Linked DNA regions of Homo sapiens: region 2 is linked to region 1. Evidence: promoter capture Hi-C in 16 types of primary human blood cells and fetal thymus (Javierre and others, 2016). All regions are on one chromosome and are shown on one strand. The core of a region is centred on a gene start or on the middle of the fragment in contact, and the rest is flanking DNA. Distances in the headings are between cores, read along the strand shown.

Region 1 (7,007 bases), core at 1,633-4,132:
AGAATAATGGGCTTTAGTCAAGTAAGATCTGCAGTGGGGAGCGAGGATGGTGGGGAGGGTGTTTTCTAGGAAAGAATACTGTACAGAGGCCCTCAGCAGGATGGGGCCAATCAGATACCTCCCTCCCCCAAGTGTGACCACAGAGTGAGCCCTTGATAAACCTTTGTTGATTGGTTGTGTTCCCTCCCACAGCTCTCCTCCCAGGGTGCCTTTCTGCAACCTTATTCTATGAATAGATGAGAGCTCTTATCTCCCCTCTGCCTGACCCTCAGGACACAGAAGGGTTGGGGGGGGGGAGGGCCCTGAAGTCGGCTAATTAGAGATGGCTGGGAGGATTACTAGGGCCTTGCTCTGGCAGCTGTGCCCACCTCTAAATTCAATATCCAGAACCTGCAGAGAAAGGGCTCACCTTGATAAGCTCCGGAGACAAAGCAGGAGACAGATAGGGTTTGTTCTCAACAGAGCACTCACCCTCTGAATACAGTTTTTGTTTAAGCCCCAAGGCTGGGAACATTCCACAGCCTGGCAAACTCCCTGTCTCCTCAAGGTCAGTCCTTCCTCAGCATTCCTCTTTGGAAACGTCTCCCACGGCTGGCCCTGCTCCTGCCCCCTGGCTTTAGGGGCAGTTATATAACTCTTAGGAAGACCTAGAAATGCAAGCATATGGTGTCCTCAATTCCCAGCACAGACTTGCTGCTTCACATTTTTAGCTGGTGCTGAGAGACTGGCTTTCACACACAGACACACACACATACACATCCCTGACTCATAACTACATTTCTGCTGCAGTATTGCAGATTTCTAAAAAATTAAATCCTACATCTGGAGCCACATAAGGGTGAAAGCATAGGACATTTTGTCCCAGTAACTGTGGGGATAGAAAGGCCTCTGAGGCAGGACACAAAGGCCATATCAGGGCCACTGCAGGGCCAGAGGTCCTAGCACCCCTGGCTTTGGCTCTGAGGGTTTGGTTGCTTGCAGCTGAATTCCCTAACCAAAGCCTGTCATGTGTGGTGCCAAGCTCACAAATTCAGCATGCATCTACTATGTGTTTGCAATGACTAAAAGGTTACAGAAGGCAGCCTGGATTGCGGGGATCGGGGATACTTAGAAAATACGTTCTGCAAAATGTTGTATTAGAGGTTCTGAAAATTAAGATACAGAAAACATTTTACTTAATGAAGAAAATAGGGTAAATATGTTCAAAGGAGTATAGTTGTTAAAAGCAAACTGTTTAGAGTCAAGATCAACCCAGATTCACTTTCTGGTTCTCTGCAGCTTACTAGCTGTGACCTTCAACAAGTCTCTCTTAACCTGAGTCTTAGCTTTCCAATATGTAAAATGGACACAGCATTGTGAGGGTGGTTGGGAGGATTAAATGAGATCAGAGAATTTAGCACCATGACTGTAAAGAGAAAGGGCTCTACAAATGTAGCTGGTACTACAATTCACTTTTTTTTTTTTGAGACAGGACCTGACTGTCACCCAGGCTGGAGTGCACTGGCATGATTACAGCTCACTGCAGCCTCGACCTGCCAGGCTCAAGCCATCCTCCCACCTCAGCCTCCAGAGTAACTGGGACTACAGGCATGCGCCACCACATCCTGCTAATTTTTATATTTTTTGTAGAGATGGGGTTTTTGCATGTTGCCAGGCTGATTTCAAACTTCTGAGCTCAAGCCATCTGCCTGCCTTGGCCTCCTAAAGTGTTGGGATTATAGGCAAATGAGCCACCACGCCAGCCCACAATTCACTTTAAACACAAGTGAAACACATTTCATTAGACAGTGGAATAGACTTATGTCAATTTTCTTTTCTCTCTTATTTTACACAGTCTGATTTCCTGAAGACAGGAGGCGGGAGTAAGCTAATCAGGCCCTGAGTTAGCTGTTTCCAAGAAGCTTAGAGTGTCCCACTTACCTACGGGTTGCAGGGCCCGCATTGCCAGTAGGGCTGGCTTTTAGGGATGCTGCTGTTGGTGTGTGCTGTACTTGTTTTCTAGGATTGGGACAAGCTTCCTTGAGCTCCTGACTTTAGAGACCAGGTTTGGGAACTGATGGGTGCAGCAAATGCAAACAGACAGCAAACAGGCCAAAGAGGAGATTCATTCACTGAAGAGGGCCCTGGTACAGTACTGTCGAGGTTTTGCGGTGGCCTGGACACGGCTGGCTCCTTCGACTTACACAATATATCTTCTCTCTCTCTTACCTGCACTTATAAGAATCGGTGCTAAGGGTATGTGCCTACCACAGTGCAGCTTGTAGATTAATGAAGAAAGAATTGCTGCCACTTCCCAAATATTAAACGCCAGGTTCTGCCTATGCATATTCTCTCAACCTTCACAACACACCTACTAACTCCAGCTTACAAATGAGGAGACGAACCAGCAGGCTGTTCCAGGCGTCTGGTTGTAAGAGCAGTGGCAGTAGAGAAAATGATTTATTTTAGCACCAGCCACTGTGCTAATCCCTTTAGATATCATCTCATTTAATCCTTTTAACAACCCTGAAGCACCATCCTTATTCTAAAGGGACTTCGGACCTCTCTGCGGTCCACACTGTCCCCTGCTCGGTGCAGGAGTGTAGACTGGGACTGTTCCGTCTGGTGGTCTCCCCGACAAGGGTTCACCTGGAAACTGGCCTTTGGGCTGGGATTGGGACTCTGTACTTAGGCTGGCAGCCCATATTAGGACTGGGCACCGTGATAAGCACTTTCTTACCGCAAATGCACGATTTCACTCGGCCCTCACACACCCCACGAGGTGGGCACCGTCACAGTGCCATCTCACAGGCAAGGAGGCCAGGCCCAGGCCCTGAGGATGCGCCGCTCAGGTGGGAGCTTCCGGGGAGCTCGCGCGACAGCCTGGGGGAGCGCGGATTCGTCTCTGCGCTACGGCGGCTGCAGAGGGTCAACCCGCGGAGGCGGCGCTTCGCGGCGGGTCCTCGGCCTGAGGCTGTGGGATGCCTCCAAACCCGGCGCGGCCTCCGTCTGCAAGGAGAGCAGAGGGTCCCCGCCGGGAGCGCGCCCGGCTGCGGCCCCAGGCGGCCCTGCCCGCAGCCGCCACCTGAGCTTGGGCGCGGCTCCTATCTCCCACCCGCGCGTCGGCCAGTGAAGGGCTCCGTGCTTAAACATCATTCGTTACAGAAGTATTGCGGCCATCACACGGCATTTTAAAAACACGAATGATGATAAATAACTTTAACACTGCTTCCAATTCTGCCTCCAAGCACAGCATCATTACCATTTGCATGCGTTTCACTTCATTCGATTTCCATGTGTATGGATTTGTTTCTACATAGCTGTGGTAAAACGCACATACTAAACTGAATCCAGGGTTGTTTTCCACTTTGTAACATGAACATTTTCACCGTGTTAGTACTGACGCTTCCTACCTATAATTTTTAATGGCAGGACTTTAAAAAATTGGGTTGATACGCTGTCACTTCTCTGAGCATCTCGCAAATGTTCAACATTCAAGTGGCTTCCAAAGCTTCACGATTATAAATTATTCATTCTTTTTTGTTTTGTTTGGTTGTTTGTTTGTTTGTTTGTTTGTTTTTTGAGACGATGTCTCGCTCTTGTCGCCCAGGCTGGAGTGCAGTGGCGCGATCTCAGCTCACTGCAACCTTCGCCTTCCAGGTTCAAGAGATTCTCCTGCCTCAGCCTCCTGAGTAGCTGAGATTACGGGCATCTGCCACCACGCCCACCTAATTTTTGTACTTTCAGTAGAGACGGGGTTTCATCATGTTGGCCAGGCTGGTCTCGAACTTCTGACCTCAGGTGCTTCTCCCTCGACCCGGCCTCGGCCTCCCAAAGTGCTGGGATTACAGCACTTTGCTGCCCAGCCCATTCTTGTGTATAAAGTCCTTTCAGTATTGAGATCAGTTTCCTTAGGTTATATTCACAGGAGTGAAACTGCTAAGTCAGAATGTGAGCATTTAAAAGCTTTCAGTATTATTGCCAAATGGCTTTTCACAGATGACTCAGGGAGGTTTTGGTACTTGGAACACTGCTACTTATATCCCACTCCCCCCCCCCCCCACCAGGAAAACATCTAAAGTGCACTTTTTTTTTTTTTTTTTTTTTTTTTGTGAGACGGTATCTCGCTCTGTCGCCCAGGCTGGAGTGCAGTGGCGCGATCTCCGTTCACTGCAAGCTCCGCCTCCCAGGTTCACGCCATTCTCCTGCCTCAGCCTCCTGAGTAGCTGGGACTACAGGCGCCCGCCACCACGCCCGGCTAATTTTTGTGTTTTTAGTAGAGACGGGGTTTCACCGTGTTAGCCAGGATGGTCTGGATCTCTGACCTTGTGATCCGCCCGCCTCGGCCTCCCAAAGTGCTGGGATTACAGGCGTGAGCCACCGCGCCCGGCTAAAATGCAGTTTCATTAAGAGATAGTGACCCTTTCTGAGAGTGTCTACATTTAATTGGGATCAGAGCTTGAAGTTGAAAATTTTGTGCCCTGGGACTTCAGACATCAGAAAACAGGGTAGGAAGATTCTCACGGGTTAGGATTTTTCTGGTGACCCTGAGTGGGGGAGCCACTTATTCTGCCTTCACTTAAGGCTAAACTAGACTCCCGGCCCTGCGTAGAGTTCTGAGGGACACCAGGGTCACAAGGCTAGTGAGACAGAGTTCATTTGGAAGAAGTGAAATAATTTAGGAATTCACAGAATATTGATGATGATATCCTTCCTCCTCCAGATGACAAGGTAATAAAGAATAATGAGATGTGATCATGGGAAATAGCCACCATGAGCAGCAGCCACCAAGGCACATAAATACTGTGGAATTGACTCTGCTGTCAGCTTGTGGGTTTCTGGAGTGACAGATTAAACCAAACTCAGTCCAGCTTCTTGTTTACTCTGTGTAAATCTACTCACTGTCCAGAATCTTCAGGCCGGTGTTGCCACCACTTGTTCTGTCTGTGATTCCCAGTGATGAGTAGGAGGTGACCAGCAGGCAGACTGTCTCCCTATGGGTAGGGAGCCTCAGAGTTCTGCAGGGACTGGGGTATAGGTAGAAGATGAAAAAAATATCCTTTCTGAATCAGCTCTTTGCCTGTCTGGGCAAACCCCTACGTTTCCTATCCACACTTTCTCTGCTCTAGGACCTAAGCCTTGGAGAGTTGCCCCCAGTTCATTGACAAGCTCCCTACACTAGAGTCCTTTTGTAGTGGGCATTGGGGTGCACCACCCAGATTTCTCTTTAGAACTGGTGAACTTATTCCCTCAAGCTGCTGGGGATTTGCTGGCAGACAGACCTCTCCAGGAAGTGCCTTAGCTGAAGAGAGATCCTCACTCAAGGTCACACCCCACCCCCCTTCCTGGAGCAGCCCACATCCAATGAGGTATACTTGTCTGGCACCCTCACCCCACCTTCAAAGTTCCCTATGGGGTCAGCAGAGACCTTTGTTGAGACTGCTTTGCAGCCTAACTTATCTCTCTGCACAAATTGTTTCTCATTTTCCTTCTATTCCAAAGGTGTTAATCCCAAGAGTATTCCTAATAAATGTCCCTCATGGAAGTTTCCATCTCTGGGTCAGCTTCTGGGAAGCTCAACCTGTGACACCAATCCCACATGAAATATTTATGTGCTACTCCATGAGTCCCTTGTTTAATAAACATTATCTAGCAATAACATGGGGATAAGGTCACAACTCAAAATAGACTAGCTTATAGCTTTGCAGCTTGTTTTGTGTCACTTTTTTTTCTGATTCTCACGAGCTCTGTCACACTACAACTCCTATTTCTAGGTGTGGAAGACAGAATAATGGCCCCGAAGACGACTTACATGGCATAGGGAAATCAGGATTGCAGATGGAATTAAGGTTGATAATCAAGTGATCTTAAAATAGGAAGATTGTACTGAATTTAACAGGCTCGATGTAATCACAAGGATCCTTAGACGTGGAAGAGGGAGGCAGAAGAGAGTGAGATGTGACTATGGAAGAGAATCAGGGAGATGTGAAAATTACTCACTCGCCATTGCTGGAGGAGATGGAAGAAGGGGGTCACAAACCAAGGAATAAATGTGGCCTCCAGAAAGTGTGAAAGGCAAGAAAATGGATTCTTCCCTAGAGCCTCCAGAAAAAAGTGCGGCCCTGCCAACACCTTTATTCTAGCCCATGTCAGATTTCTAGCCTAAAAAACTGTAAAATAATACATTTATGTTGTTTTAAGCCATTTAGTTTGTAGTGATTTGTTACGGCAGCAATAGGAGACCAAGACACTGGGCAAATCTGCTTCCTTCCCAAGGGCTCACTTATAGGCGAGGCCGCAGCAGAAACAGTGAGGAGGAAGCAGTTGGAACAGAACAACCTCTCACATGAATAACTCTTGGCCCTCCTGTCTTGATGCTACCATGAAAGAAGAAAGCATCTAATATTTCTCCATAATCTACCTCTTTAAAGTGAAATAATAAATCTGAGAATTTTAGCAGTGGACAAAAGGATAAAGTTCATCTGTATCAATGGCTTTCAAGCTTTCATTTAGCAGAGGAACATTTTTTAAAAATAGAGAATCACAGACAAACAATATCCAAGACATAAAAGTGGAGCTATCCTGATTGAAGCCCAAGGCCCATGGTCTTTCGCCTCCCCTGAGGAACTGAGGACGAAGGACAAAAACCATCCACCTAGGACACTTGGCCCCTGGACTGGAGAACAGCAAAACAAAAGTTAGAACTCAAGTCTCTACCTCAGCCTGGTGCCTAGGCAAAAAGATTGACTATAGGCTGTTCTCAGAACACTTGTGGGACAGCCTTCTGTGGTCAATGAGATTTATGCAGCATCACGGGACATCTGTGAATTTCCTATAGACAGATCTACACCTCTTCTTACATGTTTCTTGTGTATGTTGCACTTTGTTATACACTGGATCTTCACACCTAGAGCCAGTCCCACTGGAGATGTGAAATAAACAGCTTACTACATGATGTGACTGTGTGACAACACAGTCATCATCTGACTCCAAACCTCTCCCCCAGCAGTCCGCCAAGATGCCTGACA
Region 2 (7,652 bases), core at 1,298-3,797, 79 kb after region 1:
ATCCAGAAGTTGAACACCCATCCACATGGTGCCTTCACAGCACATGAAGAAAAAGAGGGGCAGGTTGCAGAGGAGCAGGACAGGGGGACGTGTTGCCAAGAGCAGGCAAAGGTCTGACCTGATGGCAGCTCTGAATTGGGTCTGGCGGGAGTTGGAGGTAACTGCATTATGGGAAAGACTGAAAGGTTAATATGAAACCAGCTGATACTGAAAGAGAACAATTAGGAAGGTTAAGGGGTTTAATATTAGATAAATGGCTGCCAGAGGATAAAGTTCACAACTTCCATGAAAGAAGTCTGACTCAGAGAATTCTTTTTAGTGGACCAGACCAAGGTCTGATTTTGTTATTTTTTTTTCTTCCCAGTAACTGAGAGAAAATTACCATTCATTCACATAAGATTCATTCTCTTCCCTCCTCCTGCTCCTTCCTCCGGCTTCCCATCTCTCTCCTGTTTGGAAATGTCTGATTTCCTTCCAGTTCTGGAATGAATCAGGGTCCCACCTTCCAGTCTGCATACCCCACACTCCTCTCCACCTGTAGGGGTTCTTTCTCAGTGAGATTTGTGGGGCCCTACAAGAATATTTTTGTCAGTGTTGCTTGTATTCTGGAAATATTTCAGGCCACTAAGCGATCTCACAGATCAGTAGTCAACCCAGGCGAGACATTCCGAGCCAATAAGGAGTTAACCCAAACATGGGGAGACGGGCTGGTTGATTTGAGGTGGCTGAGGAGATTGGGGGAGATGGGGAATTCTCATAGTCTCCAAACCCAGCAATTCCTTCCTGGGAGTTTTTTAAACATTCCTTCCTGGGAGAAGGGCCTCTGATGGGGACAGCTGATAAAGGAGCTGCCACCCCCTCCTCCAGCTCCCCACCCCCGTGCCCCACTGGAAGACAGGCTTGATTTCCACATCCTGCCTAGCACGGGCTTGGTGAAGCTGGCAGAAGCCCTCTCATCAGTCTCTGTTCTTCTGTCTGGACTGAACCCTCCAGCCCAGGCTTCAGGCCAGGCCTTTGTCTGAACAGATTCCCAGGCCCCACCCACCCTCGACTAACTGAATTTGAATCTTTGAGGGCACAGTCTGGGCATCTGCATATTCTGAAGTTCCTCGATGACCCCATGACCTGCCCAGTTTGGGAACCACTGGCTCAGGGGCCACATGGAAAAAAGGCCAGGCAGGGAGGGGCCGGGGCCTCTCAGACTTTGGGCTGGGCCATTTGTGTGATTCCCTAGTTCCCATCCCAGCCAGTGAGTTTCTTGGAGCAGACATTTCCTCTTACTTATCCCCTCTTACAATCCCCACACAGGGCTGGCCACGTTTAGTATGTGGGAGCTGAATTAAGTTTCCAAATCTCATGGCTCATGTCTGTAATCCCAATATTTTGGGAGGCCAAGGCGGGAGGATCACCTGAGCCCAGAAATTTGAGACCAGCCTGGGCAACATGGGAAGACCCTGTCTCTACAAAAATTTAAACGTTAAAAATATTTTTTAATTAAAATTTTGAAATGTCTCCCCTTCCTAGACCCTGAACCTGTTCAGTTCTCAAGTTGACATGTTCAGAGGCCTGGCTGGTAGAGCCCGGGCCTGGTCCCACAGAATCAGCATGGTCCTGAAACACAAGAGCACAGGAGGCAAAGCTGGAAGGGCCCTTAGAGAACCTCTAGTCCAATAGCTTTCAAATTGTAATCCTAGGTACCCTGGGGTCCCATGGTGGAACCTCAGAGAGCAGGAAAAGGGAAGGGCAGAGGCTCAGTGGGAGGAAATGCCGGCCCTCCCCCCACCTCCACCCTTCCTTCAACCAGGCCAGCTCTGCTTTCACAGCTTTGTGTGACTTTCGCAATAACCAAATGGCTTCCAAGCTTCTCCCCTTGCCAACCCCACCCCCAGCCCCTGTCTATTTTCCATCTGGTGTCCAGAATGATCATTTCAAAACATAAGGCTCATCATGTCCCTCTTCTGTTCAAGACCCTACATTTGGCTTTCCATTTCACTCAACAGCAATCCAAGGTCCTCTTCATGGCCGGCAAGTCCCACCTGTTCTCACCCCGGCTGCCCCTACCTCATCTCAGCCACGCTGGCCTCCTTCGTATCCCTGAATGCACCAAGCAGGCTCTTATCCGACACCTGGGCAGGTCTTCTTCCTTCTGCTGGAAACACTCTTCCCCAAATAGCTGCATCCCTTGCTTCCTCTTGTCCTGACCACCCTATCAAAAAAGGCATCCTGTTCCATCAGCCCAGCCCCTTCCTGTACTGTACTGACTGTCCCTACTGAAATATAGGCTCCACGAAGGGGAGGACTTTGTTTTTTTTTCACTGCTATGTCCCCAGCACCAAGAACAACAGTGGCTGGCACATAGTAGGTGCTCAATAAATAATGATTTCCTGATTTAATCAGATTGGTTTTGAGTCTAAAGTTATTTTGTACGTTTTCTTCTTTACACATTTCTCTATTTTTCAAATTTTCTGCAGTAAATATGCATGTTTTTACCATCAGAAAAAGCAGTAAATGACATAGTCTTTTCTCTAGGACCAATCTTTGGGAGACTCAGAGCTGCTAGAGAATAATTTAAGAAGATGAAGGGAGGCCCTGCCTTGAGCCCCTGGTTCTGAGCAGCACCAGGTCGGTCCTGGTAGACTATAACAATACCACTGATTCCTAATGGTGGATGGGGGAACTTAGTGGGGCTAAGCAGACCCCACTTACCTAACAGCATTTTGTCTTGGGGTCACTGGGGAAGGAGAGAGAAGGAGTGAAAACACGACCAGCAGCAACCCCCTCCCCACTGAAATGCACCAGGATCTCCCTAACCCGATACAACAGACATGAGGACATGGGCTCCCAAGCACCCTCCAGTAAGGCATTGTGGCCATAGGTCATTCTTTAACTGGCACAACTGGCTTTTCTCAGACAGACTTTCTCTTTATTTTCTTCAGGGACTATTACTCTGAGGCCTAGTACCTGCTGCCTCTGCTTATATGACTGAATCTAGAACAAAGAAGAAACATCTTAGCTGAGGGGTCAGGGCTCTGGCCTGACAGAAACCCTGTGGTCTTGTCTCCATGTCAGAGCCCCATGACTCCAAGTGGGTGGGAGTCCTGGGCTCGCCCATGACTCATTGTTCGAGTTCGTAGAGAACTCAGAAGTTCCATATGGAAGCACAGCCTCACAGGCTAGAGACAATTCAGGAAACGAAAGCCCCATTCACTTGATTATTGGTTCATTTTCTGATGGAAGCTTTGCTGATCCTCTTTCATAAGGACCATCTGAAATAGACAACTGAAAAGAGAACTAGGGGGCCATTTCCCTTCCCTCCTCTAGCCCCTGAGCTCGGTCATCAGAGTCATGTGGACCCTAGCCCCTGGAGCTGGATAGGGCCCAGGGGTCATCTGGCCACTGTCTGTTTCATTGTGACTTACCAGGCAGGCCCCCTGATACTCAGGGACACAGCTGCCTGCCTCCTGGGCTGACTTTCCTGCAATGCTCTAGAGCGGAGCCAGCCAGCTTCTCCAAGAAGCCGGTGGTAAATACTCGCTCTGGGCACTGTCACCTTTTCTTTGTTTTTTCCTTACAACCCTTTAGAAACATAAAACCATCCTGAGCTCACGGGCTTCACAGAAACAGGCTGTGAGGATAGGCAAAGTACAGCCCATGAGCAAGACCCAGCCCACTGCCTGTTTTTGTAAAATAAAGTTTTAGTGGACACAGCCCTGCTGATCTCTTGATGAATTGCCTATGGCTGCTTCCACGCTACTACAATCGTGGAATTCTGTAGTTGAGACAGAGCCTGTAAGGTCAATAAAGCCAAAAATAGTTTCTATCTGTCCCTTCATAGAAAACATCTGCCAAGCCCTTCTCTAAAGTTTCATATGCATTCGTTCCTATTTAACACTCAAAACAATTTTTGAGATTAGTATTAGAGATGAGTATTCCTAATCTTACAGATGAAGAAACCGAGAACGAGAAAGGATAAGGCTTGCTCAAGGTCACATGGCTAATGAGGGGCAGAACCAGAACCCAAACCCAGATCTCATCTCTAAACCAGGGCTTCTTCACCTGGTGAAGCCGCTCCCGAAAGGTGGCAATTGTGAAGCGTGGAATATATCTCCTGTTCAGCCCCATCAAGTAGGGTAGCAGCAGGTTCCTTGGTGCCACGGTCTGAGAGAGACAAACTGACCTTGAACAGAAACTCTTAAGATTCTCACCAAATCCCACTGTGCAGAGAATGTCTCCAAGCCCAGTGTGCTCTCTGTGCACAGGAAAGATTCCTTTGGCAAGCTGGCTGGCTGGCAGGAGAGCTGTCCCCTAAAAGCCAAGTTTGGCTTCTGTTAAACATTTAACAACAGGTCGTCACTTCACTGTGAAGAGCCACAGAGCTGCTGCCATCTTCCCATGGAGACGTGGACTGCCCTTGGATCCCCCCAGGTCCCAGGGCTGCCATTTCCTCTAACTGCTGGGAACAGCTATGCCATTATTTGTATGAGAGAGACCCCCAGTGGATATTGCTGGTATCACTGTCCCTAAAAGCAGCTCGGCAAACACCTTCCAGGCTCCCAGAAGCTGGGTGTGTTCAAGATTATTACATTTGAGTAATTGCCCCAGTACCTAAAACCCAATGAGCATTGTCCTCTTCAAAATCCTTCCCGAGGGAGGTTGGTGCCTGCATGTTCTAACAATGCTGCCATTTCACAGAATGTATTTGGAACGCTTCCTTCAAACCTGATTTTTTTTTCTTTTTCTTTTTCTTTTTCTTTTTTTTTTTTTTTTTTGTGAGACGGAGTTTTGCTCTTGTTGCCCAGGCTGGAGTGCAATGGTACGATCTCGGCTCACCACAACCTCTGCCTCCTGGGTTCAACCGATTCTCCTGCCTCAGCCTCCTGAGTAGCTGAGATTATAGGCATGTGCCACCGTGCCCAGCTAATTTTGTATTTTCACTAGAGACAGGGTTTCTCCATGTTGTTTAGGCTGGTCTCGAACTCCCAACCTCGGGTAATCTGCCCGCCTCGGCCTCCCAAAGTGCTGGGATTACAGGCATGAGCCACTGCGCTTGGCCTGCACCTGATTTTATTATGACCTTTCACATGCTTTTAGAGTCTTTTCTGTGAGGCAGATCTGACTTCCCAGAACAGCTTGGTCTTTGTAAAACTTTGTTTTAGCTGCTTTCAGCCTAGCTTTGCTCCAGAACCTGTTTTTTGTGTTCCATAGTGTTGCTAATTCTGGTGGTTGTTATTGTTTGCAGTTTTTTATTTGAATTGGATAACAAAATTATGCATTAGGATTTCCAGCATTTCTGGAAAAGTCAGAAAGCACTTGTTTTGAGTTCTTGCTCAGTAGCTAATAGCTGAAACTAAAGAGGAGCTGTTGCCCTCTTTGGACAGGTAAGGATTCTCCAGTTTGCCACAGTCCCCACCACTCCGTATTGCCCCTTATTGGCTGTGCTGGTGTTTGATTGCATTGCCTTGTTGGTCCCTAGAGAAGTTTTAAAGTTATGTCATACATACAGAATAATTGCCATGAAAATAGCTGCTGCCACAGATCCCAGACACTATGCTGAGCACAGTATGTACATGTTCTCATTTAACCCAGTGAGATAGGTATCATTATTCCCAATTTACAGACATAGAAAGTCAGGGTCAGTAAATGTCAGGATCAGAAAATGTCTTTATAAGGGTTGAATTGCATTTCAGTTTGGACATCTGCATTTTACCATGTCAGATAATGAACTCCTCTAACTGGTTTAGGAGATGTGACTGGCTCAGTAAAGGCCTCAAATAATCACTAGGTTTTCCTCTTTTTCCACCTGCAACATATTCAAGAATGGTTAACCCTGATCTCAAGTCATGAAGTAAGCAAAGCGTCTTTGATGTTAAAGACACTGGAATATCCTCCCCTTTCTTCCTCAGCATATCTGTCTTGAACCACACACCCATGCCAAGTGCGCAGTACTCAGATCTTCCCGCAGGGCCCAGGGACCCCACTGTGACACAGTGTCTGGGCCTCAACTCTAAGACAGCACCTCACCTTCCGGATTTTTCCCATCCCTTTTTTCTACCAAAACATCCTTTGCTGTGTCCCGTACATTCAAGCTCTTGATAAGTGACTAACTACTTAATTTGATAAGTGATTTGGGAGATAAGTGATTAACAGACTCATTTATTCTTCTAAAAATTACTTATTGAATGTCTATCCCCTCCTCTTAAAACCATATGAGGGCTACCAATTGCTCCTAAGAGACTAATGACCAAAATCCTTCATAAGGCCTAAAAGGCTTGTGAGACACTGTGTCTGCTGGCCCCTCCAGCCATCGTCTCTGCCCAGCACTCCCCCAGCCTTCTAGTTCCTCCAGCATCCCTTGTCTCCATCTACTAAGACTTTACACTAACCCCGTCCTTGGCCTGGAAAGCTCTTTCACCCCTCTTAGCTGGTAACTGCTTTTTTGTCTTTCAGGTTGCTATGAAGTCACAACTTCATCAAAATGCATTCCATGACCTCACTGACAGGTTCAAATTGCACCATGAGACATGCACTGGCACCATGAACCTATCAGATAAAGTGTCCTGAGGGCTGCAGTCTTGCATTTATTTATTTGATGAACATACCTCTACCTCATCAGACAATGAGCTCCATGATGTCATCGTGGAGGGATTTTATCTGTTTCTAGTCGCTTTTGCTTCCCCAGTGCCTAGATGCCTAATTCATATTTGTTGAAGGGAAATGGGGTAGGGTAGAGGAGGAGGGAGGAAGAAATTTCTATCGCTTTCTACAGTTAAAATGGAGAGAATCTAAAGAACTTTCCCAAGGACACAGAGATAGTAAGTGACACAGCAGGACACTGAACCCAAGTTTCCAAGGCACGTTTCTTTTCCACCCTATCATAACTTTCTTCTAGGGCCTTGGCAGGCCTCTGTGTGCTGTGATAATCACACCCTGAAGATTATTATGACATTGGAGGCATGCCCGGTCTGGCTCCAGACAAGGTGGTGCATGCAATATCATGGAGCTGCAGCAGTGTCACTTAGCCACATGTAGGGCAGAATGATGCTAGGCATACCCTGACAGATCTCTGGGTGACATAAAGATGACTTCGACTTGGCGCTATCCAGGTGGATTCCTGGGGGCGCCACAACTAGACTTAGCAGGAGTATAAGATTTAGGATAATCAGCCTGCTAGAAGAAGAAAAGCAACCATCTATTGTGCCCTTATCATATGCAAAACTCTTTAATGACACTATTTGGTTGATTCTGACATAAGACCTTCTAAAGAGATACTATTTCCCCCATTTTACAGATGATGAAACTGAGGTCTGGAGACCGAGTTGCCCAGAGTCACACAACTGTCAGTAGTCATGGAGGAATTAGCTTTGAAATGCAGATGTGTCTGATTTTGAGCAATTTTTATTCTGTGATGGAGCGCAGCCTCAAAATAGAACAGAATGCTCAACTACCTCATATAGAATGTGAGAAATAACCCAAGAAGTAGAAAGAATGAGAGGGAGCTGGAATGAACCATCATGGCTGGAGGTTCAGTAGAAGGTTGCTGGCCCTGGGAGCAAGGCCCAGGACCCAAGGAAGAAGGGTTGGCTGGAGCCATAGGAAGAAGGGATGCAGCCAGAACAGCACCGCAGCTGACTGAGGCAGGTGCAGAAGAAGCT

Evidence for each region. Contacts are between HindIII fragments. The CHiCAGO score rates a contact against its expected background, and 5 or more counts as called.
Region 2: a fragment that was not itself captured here is called in contact with the fragment with the promoter of ATP1A1-AS1 in region 1 in 1 of 17 cell types (M2 macrophages); the score reaches 5.1 in M2 macrophages.

What each region holds. Positions count from the first base shown.
Region 1 is chr1:116,415,740-116,422,746 of GRCh38, forward strand. ATP1A1-AS1 (ATP1A1 antisense RNA 1) reads right to left here and starts at 2,883. Exons shown (of 3, transcript NR_027646.1): 1 at 2,720-2,883. RefSeq lists enhancers at 25-526, 2,708-3,002 and a silencer at 2,962-3,091. The HindIII fragment of the contact is 1,476 bases long and covers 2,013-3,488 here.
Region 2 is chr1:116,494,746-116,502,397 of GRCh38, forward strand. LOC112268235 (a long non-coding RNA gene) reads left to right here. Exons shown (of 2, transcript XR_002958352.2): 2 at 6,448-7,652. Among named protein-coding and RNA genes, the nearest start is that of LINC01762, 20 kb to the left of the region's middle. RefSeq lists an enhancer at 4,290-4,389. The HindIII fragment of the contact is 1,376 bases long and covers 1,860-3,235 here.